Linked DNA regions of Homo sapiens: region 1 is linked to region 2. The links are contacts of gene promoters, found by promoter capture Hi-C in human tissues and cell types (Jung and others, 2019). All regions are on one chromosome and are shown on one strand. Each heading gives the region's core, a stretch centred on a gene start or on the middle of the fragment in contact. The rest is flanking DNA. Distances are from core to core; before and after follow the strand shown. Region 1 holds the start of KRT4 (keratin 4). Region 2 holds the start of KRT81 (keratin 81).

Region 1 (6,862 bases), core at 1,226-3,725, 520 kb after region 2:
CTAGAGGGCCTTCCTAGACGCCTTCAGAGCCTGAGATTCTAAGCCACTGGAGAGAGCCCCGGGAGCCTGGGTGTGGCTGGGCACATGTGTCAGATGGCGTCCCCTCCTTCCTCCCCATGTACTTAGTCTTGAAGTCCTCCACGCTGTCCTGCATGGTCTTCAGCTCAGACTGCAGGCGCCCTTTGTCATTGCCCAAGGTATCTAGCTGCTTCCTCAGGACACTGAGGTAGGTCTCAAAGAGGGGCTCAAGGTTTTTGCTGGAGGTGGTGGTCGTCTGCTGCTGGAGCAGGTTCCATTTGGTCTCCAGGACCTTATTCTGTTGCTCTAAGAACTGCACCTGTGTTGATAAAGGCACCAGCCAAGTGATGAGGGCCTGAAGTGTGGCAGGAGGGCCAGCCAAGGCAACACCAACCCAGTCAATCCCAGGGAACTACACGGCCCAAGAACCACCCAAGTAGGGCCACTATGTTGCATCTCCAGGGCACCATTCACTCGGGTTGACATGATGGCCCCATTCTCGAGCCCATAGCACCAAGGGGTCACATAGGTTGTGGAGAATAGAGCACAGCCAGAGAAGCAGGGCCTAACAGTGCAACAAGAACAACTTCCTAGCCGCAGGCACCCAAAGCCCCAAAGAACATTAAACTTCTATGAAATAACAAAATAAAATTAAGAGACATCACAATCTGGAGGCTCTTGCATTCAAAGTGATCCTGACCCAAGGCAAATGAAAGACAAAGTCACTACAGACTTTTTAAATAAGCTTACTTATCAATGGATCTGGCGTGTCCCTGTGAACCTGTGAACAACTGAGTATAGATATTTAAAACAAGGGCCCTGTACGCATTGTCTCACCTAAACTCCATTCTGCAAAGGACTTTCCTGAACTTTCCCTCTCTCTATGAAAAAATCTAGCCAGACAAACCAGGACAGCAGCTTAGCATGACATTTCCATGTTATGAGCCTCAGAATTGAAAGGAAAGCAGGTAAGGCAGACCGATCACATTTTGAACCCAAAAGGTAAAATGAGATGAGATGAGACAAGGATGCATCAAAGAGCCCTGAGTTTTTGCTATCACATCTGCATGTCCTATAGTCACAGTAAAACCTCTTTAAGTTACTATGGGTTTATTCAAACTAGCAAGAAGAACAAATATGCACCTTATTCTATTCCAAAAGTGTTCATTCTTGCCCCATATGTCGAAGCTGCCCAAGACTTTGATGCCTGGTGAACCAGGGCAACCTGGACCAAAGGGAGGCACTCATCCACCCAGTCATCAATCTTTGGATGACTCGGCTCTCTGGGGCTGCACTGCTCACTATCATCCATCATGCATGACCATAACTGAGCTTAAAGAACTTGAACTTCTAGACGTTGCATGAAAAAGGAAGTTGGGCTACAAAAAGAAAAGAGACCTGTCTCCTTTCTTCAAACAGACCCAGACATGAGCAGTGTTGTCCAGTCAAAGGAATGAAAAAAGTAAATTTCCAAGGCCTTGGTGAGACCTAGAATCTGCCACTGGAGCCAGTCCCTTTTTCATTTGCAAAATCAGCTTAGTTGTCTTCTGTTCTAAGAACAGAAGTGGCCACTGTTAAGTGATTAATGGGGTTAACTGCATTATATTCAAAACCAAAATCTGAGAAAAAGCAGAGAAATAATGAACCCCCTTTATAGCTGGGATGACTAGAGCCAGAAAAGCCAAATGATTTGTCCAGTATCCCACAGCCTGTCTAGGGAATTCCAAACACTTAACTGCCTTGAGCATCCCACCTTCCCACCAGCCACGGGACAAAAAGGAAGGCTCAAAGTCATGATGCCCCTTCAACAGCTGGAGAATTGGGGCCCAGGGAAGTTCAGTGGTCTCCCCAGCACCTGTGGCAGGCTCAGGTCTGAGACCCCAGGACTCAGGACCCCTCTCTTCTAACTGCCCCTCTCCAGCCGAGGACACAGCTCACCTTGTCGATGAAGGAGGCAAACTTGTTGTTGAGGAGCTTGATCTGTTCGCGCTCTTCCGTCCGGACTTTCTGGATCTCAGGGTCAATCTCCACGTGGAGGGGGGTGAGCAAGCTCTGGTTGATGGTGACCTCCTGAATTCCCCCAGCGGGGCAGACGGGGAAGCCAGGGCCACCCTTACCACTGAAGGAGCCCCCAAATCCACCACCAAAGCCACCAGTGCCAAAGCCTCCAGCACCCCCAAAGCAGGCACCTTGTCGTGACCCAGCCACACTCATGGAGATGCTTTTGTTCCCCCTGAGGTTGTAGAGGCTTCTGCTGCCAAATCCCCCAGAAGAGCATCGGCCAGCACCTCCAGACATGGAGACTGAGCTGAAGGCACCTCTCTTGCCACCGCCTACAATGGCCGAGCCACAGCTGAAGCCCCGGGGCCCGCCTCGGACACACTGCTGTCTGGCAATCATGGCTGCAGAGAGCGAGCTGGGAGCTATCAGAGAAGTGACAGGGCCCAGGCCGGTGAGTGCTGGAGCCCTCAGCCTTCGTCTCTTATATGTCCTGGAGCAGCAGGGCTTGGTTGCAGGGGCATAAAGGGAAAAATCTGAAACATCTCTGGGCTTGGCCCTTGGCACAAGCCCATCCTTCCCGCACCCGTTGAGCATGTCACTAAACACACCTACAGAAGTCATCTGGAGGGCACAGGTTACTGGATCCCATCACACTACTCTCTGGGAGAACCTGAACTGGTGCCCCAGGGCTTCCTAATCAGAAGCCCCTGCCTGGGCCCAGCGCTCCAGGCCCACACCCACTGTACCTCCATCTCGCTAGGCTCACAGCACCTCCCTCCTCCAGAAAAGACACCCCATCACCCATCCTCTCACCCCACAGAATGTGGAGTTAGACAGCCTGAGTTTGAGCGCACAGCCTGCCACCTCCTAGCTCTGCAAACCGGAGCAAGTCACCCTCTGAGGCCCAGTTGCTTTCCCTGTAAATTGGAAGTAATACAAATATTTGCCTTGCCACTTCTCAGGATAGAGTGAGCTAGTGATTAATGGAGTGCTCTGTAAACTGTCAAAAGCCACATGTATATTTGTCATTCTTAGCATTCTTATTCCTCCACATGTTCTTGGCTCCATGTACCTATAAAAAGGGGAAATATTCTGTATTCCAGCCTTAGCCTTCCAACCTAGATCCAGATTCACTTCAACTTGGCCAACAGCTACTGAGAAACTGCCAGGCATGGAGCTAGGTACTAAGGAGATGGGGGAAGACAAAACACCTCCCCAAAGAAAACCGTGACTGTCTTTCTCAGCCCTGGGTACCCATGCTGCCCCGCAGGCCTCCCTTCAATCTGTGCTTGCACAATTCTAGATGGGCGTTCTCCAGCGGGGTCTGGTGGTGTGCACTCTGCTGCTCCATTTGCTGTCCAGTTGTTTGCTAGGTGTGTTCTGGTTTTCTGTAATGGTGCAGAATTCAGGGCAGGAGTTCATAACTTTTTTGCTGCTGGGGATCCCTTTGGCAGAATGATGAAACCTATGGATCCCTTCTCAGAGCAATGTTTTTAAATGCAAAATCCTAGTTTTAAGCCATAACTTAAATTCTTCCCAACTGAACAGTAACAGATCTGTGTTCAAATCCCTCCTGTTGCCACTAACTAGCTGTATAACCTTGGGTGGGCCAACTAAGCACTCTAAACCCATCCAATATGGTTTGGCTCTGTGTCCCCACCCAAATCTCATCTTGAATTGTACTCCCATATTTCCCACACATTGTGGGAGGGCCCCGGTGGGAGATGATTGAATTATGGGGGCGGTTTCCCCCATACTGTTCTTGTGGTAGTGAATAAGTCTCACGAGATCTGATGTTTAATAAGGAAAAACCCATTTTGCTTGGCTTTCATTCTCTCTCTTGCCACCACCATGTAACAAGTGCCTTTTGCTTTCTGCCATGATTGCGAGGCCTCCCCAGCCACATGGAACTGTTAAGTCCAATAAATCTCTTTCTTTTGTAAATTGCTCAGACTCAGGTATGTCTTTATCAGCAGCGTAATAATGGCCTAATACACCATCCAATCCATCTTCTCATCTACCAAATGGGACACCTGCCTCACAAGGAATTAGACAATGTCCCCATGGTGCCTGGCATATAGGAGGTCAGCAGGCATTCATTCTCTTCTTTCCCAGGCTTTGCCATTGCCATTTACAGGGAGAAATCTGGTGTGTTTGTTCTCCCTCCTTTCCTCAATTCCTCATAGATGAAATGACCCCAGGTCTGAGGAAGAGCAGTCACCAGCACCTGGATAATCCCACAGACCCAAGCTGCCCCTAGCTGAATGAAAGCTGGCCAGGGAGAGAGTGAACGGCTGCCTCCATGCACAGAGAGAGGGCAGGGGCCAGTGCTGAGGACAGAGTGGTCAGGAGATCCCACCCCAGACGCAGGGCTGCAGGGAAGGCCAGGCTGGCTGGGAGTTCAGCCAGCTCCTTCTCCAGCCACTTCCTCCCTTGTCCCCATTCCCCCAACCCCTCCCTCCCCTACCTCGGGTCTGTCTCTGCCAAGATGGCCTCTAAGTAAGTGGAGAGGGGGTGGAGGGGCTGTGGCCATGAGGACTGGAGGCCCCAGGCCCCATCACAGGAGAATGCCCGCGTCATGGGTCAGTCCACCTGCAGTAGGTGAGCATTCTAGAGCCAGAACCATCTCCTAGAAGGAAGGGGTTGGACTTTCACTGATCCTTTCTGCCCAGATTCACCAAGCGCCGACTTCGTGCCAAGCTCTGTGCTGGATGCTTTACCTACATTTGATCAACTAGTCTACTTAGAGGCTCTATGGAGTCAGCACCATTAGCCTTCCTTACAGAAACTCAGAGAAGTAAAGTAGCTCCCAGGGTCACACAGCAGCACGTGGTGGAGCCAGGATTTAAACTTACATCAGTCTGGTCCCAAAAGTTCCATATTCTTTTTTTTTTTTTTTGGTTTTTGTTTTGGGTTTTGTTTTTGTTTTTTTGAGACGGAGTCTCACTCTGTCGCCCAGGCTGGAGAGCAGTGGCGCCATCTCGGCTCACTGCAAGCTCCGCCTCCTGGGTTCACGCCATTCTCCTGCCTCAGCCTCCCAAGTAGCTGGGACTACAGGCGCCCGCCACCGCGCCCAGCTAATTTTTTTTTTTTTTTTTTTTGTATTTTTAGTAGAGACGGGGTTTCACCGTGGTCTCCATCTCCTGACCTCGTGATCTGCCCGCCTCGGCCTCCCAAAGTGCAGGGATTACAGGCGTAAGCCACTGCACCTGGCCCAAAGGCTCCATATTCTATAGCCTCTCACTCACACTGTTCTGCCTGGTATAAAGCCACTCTGTCTAAATTGTGTCACAACCAATCCAGAATGTGCACCCAAATAAATCTGATGGAACTGACTGTTCGGGTCAAAGGGGCTCTGGGGGCACTAGCATCCCAGGGTCTATCGATTTCCACTGTTGCTCCTAAGGTGGGCATGGCTTGGAAGGAGGGTGGGAGCTACTGCAGGTCTTTGCGGGCTGCAGCTGCAGGAGCTGAGGAGACATGTGAGCCTCCCACTTGGGAAGCTGAGGTCCAATTGACTGGTTACCTGCCCCAGAGGACATGGCAGGGCCATCAGGATCTCACCCTGAGTGATGGCTGGAGCTCACCCCCCGGCTGCCTCACCTCAGCCTCTGCACCTGCCGTTCACTGCTTTCTTCTCTGGTAGCCCCTGGGATTTGATGGGGACTATCACAGGCCGGGGTAGGCTTTGCCTGAGCACAAGTGAATCCCTGAGATGGCTCATAGTGTGCTTATTGGGTCTTTTACTCTATGGCTGTAACACTCCAACACTAGGAGAAAATGGCATGGGTTCACTGCCCCTAGAGTTGTGTCTACTGCTTAGAACAAAAAGCAAGCCAGGAGCCAAGGGGATTTTCAGGGAAACAATATAGAATATGTAATCAGTCTTATTTTGTGCCTGTGGGGCACCCAAACCATGGAGCTACGATTGAGGTACTTCTCATGAAGGTGACTTGAGGTGTGCCATCGCTGATACAAGAAGGAAGATGAAGGAAAGGCAGCGGTGCCTCTTGGGTAGAAGGGATTCTCTCTTGGAACTACTGTTATATGCTGAACACTAGGTGCTTCTTCCAACAACCCAGTCAAAGAGGTGCTTTGCTATGTCCAGTTTGGAGCTGCAGATATTGAGGCTCAGAGGGGTATGTAACTTGCCTGAGATCACACAGCCAGGAAGTGGTAGAGATAGGAAGTCAGTACTATCTGTCTGACTTCAAAGCTTGTGACCTTACAATGTATAAAACGGTAGGTATAATGTTTTATATGAGTGACTGGCCCACACAGAATATGCAGGGAAAAAAATACACAGCAACTTATACAGCCCTGTACCTCATGGTCCACCAAGACAGCCATGGGGTCTGGCCAGCAGGCTGCAAGCTCTGCAGATGCAGCTCCGCTCCTTTTTGTCCTTACCCTCAGCACATGGTCAGTTGCTTGGTTGATGTGGCCCTGTCCTTACAAGTACCCAATAAGGTATGACACTGTCCTGAGGGGCCAGTTTTGTATCCTCCAATTAACTAAATCCAAATTAATTTCATGACAAACCCTACCATAAACCCAATCCAAACAAGAAGAAAGTTCTAGTCTAGAGCCACATTCTGTGTCCTTATTATTAAATCAGAATTGCAAGAAGCTCACAAAATCTTCAAACTGAGCCTGAGAAACCGAAGGTAGACCTAAGGAAGAACTTCCTATGCAAGAGCGCCTTTACACCCTAGAGTGAGAGAGAAAGAGAGATGAGTTTCTTTCCCTGAAAACGGGGAAAGACATTGCCTTCATATGTGGGCCAGAGGCAGGTGGCTGAACAAGGCGCCACTACCCAGCAGCCACAGCTGGAAGCTTGTCC
Region 2 (7,180 bases), core at 1,057-3,556:
ACAAACTCGTTCTCAGCTGTTGCTCTCAGAGAAACCTCCTCCTCATACCTGAGACAGAGCAGAGGGAAGAGAGGGGAGGTCAGGGCAGGGCAGGTCTCTGCAGAGCCACCATCACATCACACTTCATCACAGCCATGGGGACAGTACTAGAAACACCTCCACACAGCCCCGGCCTGGCAGCCTAGCTTAGTGCTTTCTAGTTGGATGTGGGATGTGTCTGGGATTCTCTATCCACTTTGAACTGGGGATGGAGAGTGCTCATCTGGGACCTCCCAGTCCTGTTCCCAAAGGGGCTCTGAGGTCCCCCAGGAGGCAAATAGGACTCAGCCCCCAGCCCCATCCTGGGAGTGGACAGCGTGGACTCTCAGGGCCTGTAGCCCTAGCCTCCCCTCACTGGTATCAATCCCAGCTCAGGTATGGGGCCTCCTGGACCCGCAGACCCTCAGGACTTAGAACCTAAGGCAGTGGGACACCCAGAGCCCAAGACCTGTCACTCATGAGAGACCCTGGGCTCACATCTGACAGGTGCTACAAGTATAGGGGCTGAGGGTCAGGAGAGAAGGCCTGGACCCTGCAGAGGCTTCCTCCCCACCCAGCGCAGGGGAGAGCTGCTGGGTGATGTGGTTCAGGGAGAGAAGGCTGAAGTGGGACAGAGACAGGTCATGGGAGTCACAGCCCTCCTCTTACACAGGTGTCTGGGCAAAGATTCCACAAAGGAAAAGACCCCGCCACCCTCGGTCAATCTAGTGGTCATGGCCACTCACCCTACCTGGGAGTTCTTATTGTCTAATCCAGTGTATTTAACCTAAACCCCATTCCTGTGCCCAGCATCCCTCTTGCCCGCACTCACTTCTTCTTGTAGCCCTCCAGCACCTCCTGCACGTGGTTAAGCTCTGAGGCCAGCCTCCCGCTGTCGGCCTCCACGCACTCGGCCTCCCGCCGCAGAGTCTCGATGTAGCCCTCAAACAGGGGCTCCAGGTTGCTCTGGCAACACTCGCGGTTCTGGTAGAACTGCAGCTTTGTCTCCAGCAGTTTGTTCTGCTGCTCCAGGAAGCGCACCTGCCATTCGGTGTGGGAAGGTGGGGCAGATGGTGTCTGGTGCCCCAAAGCCAGCTCTGGGGGCTCGCAGGGGAGGTGCTTTAATGGGAACCCCCAAATCTGGAGCTTATCTGAGATTGAGTAGAGGTGGGCAGTGGGAGACAGACAATTTCTGGATTTCCTGGTCATGATCTGTGTCTAGATTTCCCACTCAGGAGTGGAGCAAGGGCTGGGTGGTGTCAGTGCCTGCTCCCTGGGGAGTTGAGTGACCCCCCCCCCCCAACCCAAGCAGATGAACAGAAGTGGAGGCTCAGTCCCTCACTATGAAACTAGGTGATCAGCAACCCACACAGGCAGAGTACTCAGGTTCAGATCACAGATGAGGTTTCTGGGGATGGTGCCAGGAAGAGGGTGTCACAGGCCATCTGGAAGGGAGCTCAGCTGTCCCAGCCCTTCCCCTGTGTCATCTGGAAGTCAGTGCACCCTACTCTCTCACCCTGGGGCTGCCCAAACCCCTCTGAGTTCAGCAGCAGTGGTCACATGCCCCCCTCCCCCAACTCCCTGATGTCTAGCTTGTGCCCCAGAGCAGCCTGGCCACACTTTTCCTTCACAAGCTCCCTCTATCTGAACTGTCAGCTGAGTCTGCATCTTGAGTGCCTGTGTGTGTGTGTCTGTGCATGTGTCTGTCTGTCTGTGTGTCTGTGTGCCTCGCCCATCAGACTGGGATCTCAGGCAGGCAGAGGTCTTTGTGCCTCTGACTCCATCCTTAGTGCCCGGCCCTGGCTGTGTAGGTGGTGGGGGTTCAGGAAGGGTGTGATCCAGGACACCCACCTTGTCGATGAAGGCCGCGAACCTGCTGTTGAGGGACTTGATCTGCTCCTTCTCCTCCTGCTTCACGCACTGCGCGTTGGGGTCGATCTCCAGGTTGAGGGGCGTGAGGAGGCTCTCGTTGACCGACACGGTGGTGATGCATGGGGGACTGGGCCCGCACACGCCCCCGGAGCGGTAGCCGAAGCTGCGTCCGCAGGAGCCGGCCCGAAAGCCTCCGCACACGCTGTGGCTGCCGAAGCCCCCGGTGAGGCCGCGGTAGCAGGAGATGCCACGGTAGGGGGCGGCGGTGATGCAGCAGCGGCCGGGCCGCGGCCCGCAGGCCGAGATGCAGCTGAAGGCGCGCCCACCAAATCCTGATCCGCAGGTCATGATCCTCCTGGACGTTTGGGTTGCAGAGGACAGGATAGGGGACCTGGAGTCCTGATGGAAACTCCAATGTGCTCCTCAGGGCACCGCAGCCCTATTTATGCGCAGATTCTGAAGGGGCTTGGCTGTGAAGATGATGTTGGGGCAATTTGCGCTTTATGGGCTTGGGTGGTTAGCCGGGTCTAACGCCTCTCCAGAATGTGCTTTAATGGGGGAGTGGCCTGCACCCTCTTCTTTGTAAAAGATGTCAGTCTTGGGCTCTGGGGGAGTCAGCATGTTTCATCTTCAAAGTGTCTTGCCAGCAGGGCATTCCTTCATCTGCAGGCATTGGGGAGGGAAGGGGAAGGCAGAGGAGAGGACGAGAAGGAGGAGTAGAGCCTGGCGAGGGGAAGAGAAGGGAGGCCAGGTGCTGGGAGAAACTGGGAGGAGGAGACCTGTGTGTTAAGTGTGATGTGGGGAGAGGGGTTTCAGGAAAGGCTGAGGCATTAATAAATACCATCTCTCATTTCCATCACAGCTGTGGCTAAAGTGCTCCTGAAACACAAATCTGGATTTCCCCATCTCCAGATTTTTCAGTTGGCAGCTGAAAACCATCTCACTTTTCCTACCATGGGAACAGTCAGCAGATTATTAAATATTTGTCTTTTATCTTTTTTATGATGAAAGCTTTCAAATATTGAGGAAAATTGGAATAATACAACACACATGCATTGATGCTCCACCTGTTTACCCCGATTCAACAGTTAACATTATACCATATTTGCTTTCACAGTTGCCCAATTATTTGAGTGGCAGAAAGCATGGCATGTCACCCTTAAATACATCAGCAGGAATTTCTTAAGAATAAGGAGAGTACTATTTTCTTATTCAGGAAAATTAACAATAATTCCAAAGCACCACTTACTATTCATCTCAGATTCAATTTTCCTAACTGTCCTAAGGATTTTAAAACTACATTTTACATAATTTAATTTGTGGCTCTAGCCCTTGTATTTTCTATAAATTAGAAAGTAAATCTTGAGCTGGGATGTCCAATTTGGTAGACAATAGGCAGATGTGGCTACTTAAATTTAAGTTAGTAAAAACTAAATAAGTTAAAAATCTAGTTATTCAGTTGCACTATCCACATTTTGAGTCCTCAGCAGCTACCTGTAAGTAGTGCCTACCTTATTAGACAGTGCATATAAAGAACACTTCTTTATTATTTATTTTTATTTTATTTATTGTTTATTTTCACATAAAATTCTGTTGGACAGCACTGGGCTAGAGGCTGGATTAGGTTTAAATTAAACATTGTTGGGACAGAATACTTCATAAAATATGCTGTGTAACTCTTATTATATCACCCCAGGAAGCATAAAATGTCAGATTGGTGATGCTAAATTGAATCACAGCTGGGCGCAGTGGCTCATACCTGTAATCCCAGCACTTTGGGAGTCTGAGGGGGGTGGATCACCTGAGGTCAGGAGTTCAAGACCAGCCTCAGTGGAGGAGTTTAAGACCAGAGATGGTGAAACCCCGTCTCTACTACAAATACAAAAATTAGCCCGTTATGGTGGCACGTGCCTGTATTCCCAGCTACATGGGAGGCTAAGGCAGGAGAATTGCTTGAACCCAGGAGATGGAGGTTGGATCACTTCAGTACATTTCCCCCTGTATTAGGAAAAACTGTATAGAGAATTAGAATTAGAAAGAACTGTGTAGAGAAACATGGATCTTAGTTTGATAAGAATATGTTTCTTTTTAATTGGTCACCTACTATGTGATCATCATTATATATCGTAAATGATCTCTAATTCTCACATCAATCATATGAAGTATGTGCCATTATCCCCATTTTACTGATGAGGAAACCAAGGGTCAGGGAGGTTAAATAACTTGCCCGAAGTCTCCCAGCTGGTAAGTGATGGAGCCAGGAGTTGCATTGCCTTCTCACTTATAAGCTGTGACAACCCCTTGACTTCCTAATCTTTGGATAAGTTCAAGAGGGTAGTGAAAGTTGTTTACAGGGGAGTATCTGTGAATTTAGGGTGTGAGAGAGTCCATCTAAGGAAGACGGGCAGAGTCAGAGTGGATTGGGATGGTTAGAACCATGAGGGGTCATTTAGGGACACACGGCGATGTGAGGCTACTTGGGGGCTGGGAAGGAGTATGAGTTAGATGTGCAGCACCCCGTGGCTAAGAATTGAAGGACGGGGTGGAAAACATCAGTTTTAGTTATTTGCATACCTCTGGTATATGGCAATACTTTGATAGACTGTACTATGTTCTACTTACCCAGTGAACCACCCCCCACTCCAATAGAGCAGGTCCTAGAAAAATTAGCTCGTAAAGTACAGAGGTTTGCATTAAATTGAGGAGAAGAAAAGAGAAGTGAAATGGCCTGGCTTATAGCCCCCTGGAGCTGCTATGCTTCAAGGGCAAAGGCAGGCAGAGTAGACTTAGGGAATGAGAACAGAAGCAGGATTGATGGGAAAAGAGAGGAGAGGAAAAAAATAGAAGAGAATAGGGCTCTCAGGGTATCTGTGCAAAACATTCAGAGTGTGGCCTTGTGCAGGACAAATGTGGGAGGTCACAGACTGTGTTGAGCTATCTGGTCACCCCAGAGAAGAGTATGGCACCTGCTGTCCCTTTGTGAGTTCAGGGCTGCTGGGCCAGCACTTCTGAAGCTCTTTGTACCCTCATCTGGAATTTGGGGCACTGCTCACAATTGAGCAGTGATGTCCCCAGTAAACCAGCGGTTGGGTGTCCTGAGGAGCACTGTGAGTCAAAGTACATCTCATCCACACTTCACCTTTTCTACCAGTATAACTCCTTATAAAAACAACATGTATAAACACAAGCTAATTACTAATGGCTGGTCCTTACTAAGCAATTTTAAAGATGTAAGAATATGAAAAATTCAAATGTGACACCATTTCATTAAACTTCAGGAATTAATTGCTGCTAATTTTTGAAGACCTAAAAGGACATTCAACTTGTTTTCTTCAGAGTGAAAAAACCTTGTCATGGGGAAGGGAGGAGGGGAGGGAAGGTGGCAGGGAGGAGGGGAGGGAAGATGGCAGAATCTCCACTCTATGGTCTTGGCTCTGGCAAGGTAAAGAGGATAGATTTTAACTTTGTGGAGATAACAATTATTTTTATTGTGAAATATTTCAACACAAAAAATGCATAGGTGGTTAGATCTGTAGCAATACCTACCACTTATAGGAAAAAATAGAACATGTGTGTATTTCAGGAGCTTCCTATGTACCTTGTTCTGATTGTACCCTACTCCTTCCTGGCCTAGGGTGACTCCTCTCTTGCATTTTGTGTTTAATTATTCCTTTGCTTTTCTTACAGTTTTAGAACCAATGCACCCATCTTGCAATGACATATTGTTTCTTTTTCCAGCTTTTGAACTTCACATAAATGGACTCATGTTGCATGGATCCTTGTGCATCTGGTTTCTTTCATTAAATGTTGCTTCCTGTAGCTGTCCTGTGTTCATTTTCACTGTGGATTGCACTCATTGCATGGCTATACCACAGTTTATTTGCCTTTCTACCTCGATAGCCACAAGGTTGTTTCCAGAGTTCTGTAGATTGAACAGAGCTGCTATGAACATCCTTTCTCATGTCTTCTGGTGCATTTATGCAAGAGTTTTTCTGGGGTATGTGGCTATTTTTTTTAAAGTTATGTCAGTAGTAGATGTTTCATGTAGAAAGCTATTTTATGACTATTCTTCCAAACTTAATAATAAAATCTTTTGATGTTCATCTTATACCACACTAGATACTATTTTAAGAGTCCAACATGCATTAACTCATTTAATTTTTACAGTTGCCCTCTGAGGTTGGTGTTATTATTCTCGTTTTATAGATGAGGACACTGAGGTCTAGGGAGGTTAAGGCTCAGGTTGCATGTTAGTAGCAGAACTGGAACCCAGAGCCTGTGTGTCTGATCCCAAAGGAAGGGATGCGTTTGTCCCATTGCACTCCCTTCTGTACACCATCGGCCATCAGTAATAAGTATCACACAGTAGCTGGTGTTTGTACATAACATAAAAACACAAACACTCATCTTGCCCCATGCCCTCTGCAGGGCCCTGCAGGTTGCTCTCAGGGTTCAGGGCCAGAGAGTATAGGAGAGCTCACCCTTGTTCTTGGCAAGCTTCCAGTATTAAGAGAAAAGCAGAGACACATACCCAGATAATGAACAAAAATGGAAACCCTGCAGCACATCAGTGTGTACAAATGTTTTCTTCGTGGATATATTCCAAGGGCTTGTCACATAGTAGGTGCTCAATAAATATTTTTTGAATGAATGAAAAGAATACCAGCTGCATATTAAGTGCTGAGTAATGGAGCCATCAAAGCTTGGTGGTTTATTGTGCAAAGCTTTGTGGTAGGATAGGGTGGGGACACATGAAGCAGATGATGTGGCTATTCCTGGGGGTGGGGGTGGAGAGGGGTGACCTTCCTTGCTGGGGCCTGAAGGATGAATGAAGTGAGTGAGATGTGTCCTTCAACCAAGCAAAGTCCTTGGCTTGGGCTATAAGGGGGTGGTGGGGAAAGTCAGCCAATGAGAACAAGGATCTTGAAGGCCTTGGGGCAGAGTAGAGACCAGGTGTCGGATTGGAGAAGGAAAGAGAGAAGCAAATCAGAGGAGATTTCTAGGAAAAGAGGGAGAAAGAAATACTTGGTCTTAGACTATTATTCTCAGGGTGACTTAGAAGAAGAGAAGGAGAGTGCTGCATGGGTGGAGAAGAAAATGAGGGAGAGATCTTAGGAGATAGTCAGGAAGAGGAGGAAACTGGAGGACAGTGGAGGAAAAATGGGAGAAGATCTGGGAAGTATGGTGGAAGGGTCACTCCAGGGATGAAAGAGCAGAGGAGGAGGAGGTGGATGGGGGAAGCAGCACAGCACCAAGGGAAAGTGTGTGTAGGCCCACTGGAAGAGGTGGG

The links. Contacts are between HindIII fragments. The study calls those that stand out against the background at their distance.
Region 1: a contact is called between the fragment with the promoter of KRT4 here and the fragment with the promoter of KRT81 in region 2, in 1 of the 25 tissues and cell types used here (IMR-90 fibroblasts).

The regions. Positions count from the first base shown.
Region 1 is chr12:52,811,641-52,818,502 of GRCh38, forward strand. It overlaps KRT4 (keratin 4), which reads right to left and starts at 2,476. Exons shown (of 9, transcript NM_002272.4): 1 at 1,957-2,476; 2 at 123-337. The coding sequence starts at 2,418. RefSeq lists a silencer at 1,181-1,381 and enhancers at 1,547-2,048, 6,579-6,862. The HindIII fragment of the contact is 8,662 bases long and covers 1-6,545 here.
Region 2 is chr12:52,289,228-52,296,407 of GRCh38, forward strand. KRT81 (keratin 81) reads right to left here and starts at 2,307. Exons shown (of 9, transcript NM_002281.4): 1 at 1,870-2,307; 2 at 851-1,059; 3 at 1-48. The coding sequence starts at 2,238. The region is part of intron 2 of KRT86 (keratin 86); the gene reads left to right. The HindIII fragment of the contact is 10,526 bases long and covers 1-4,644 here.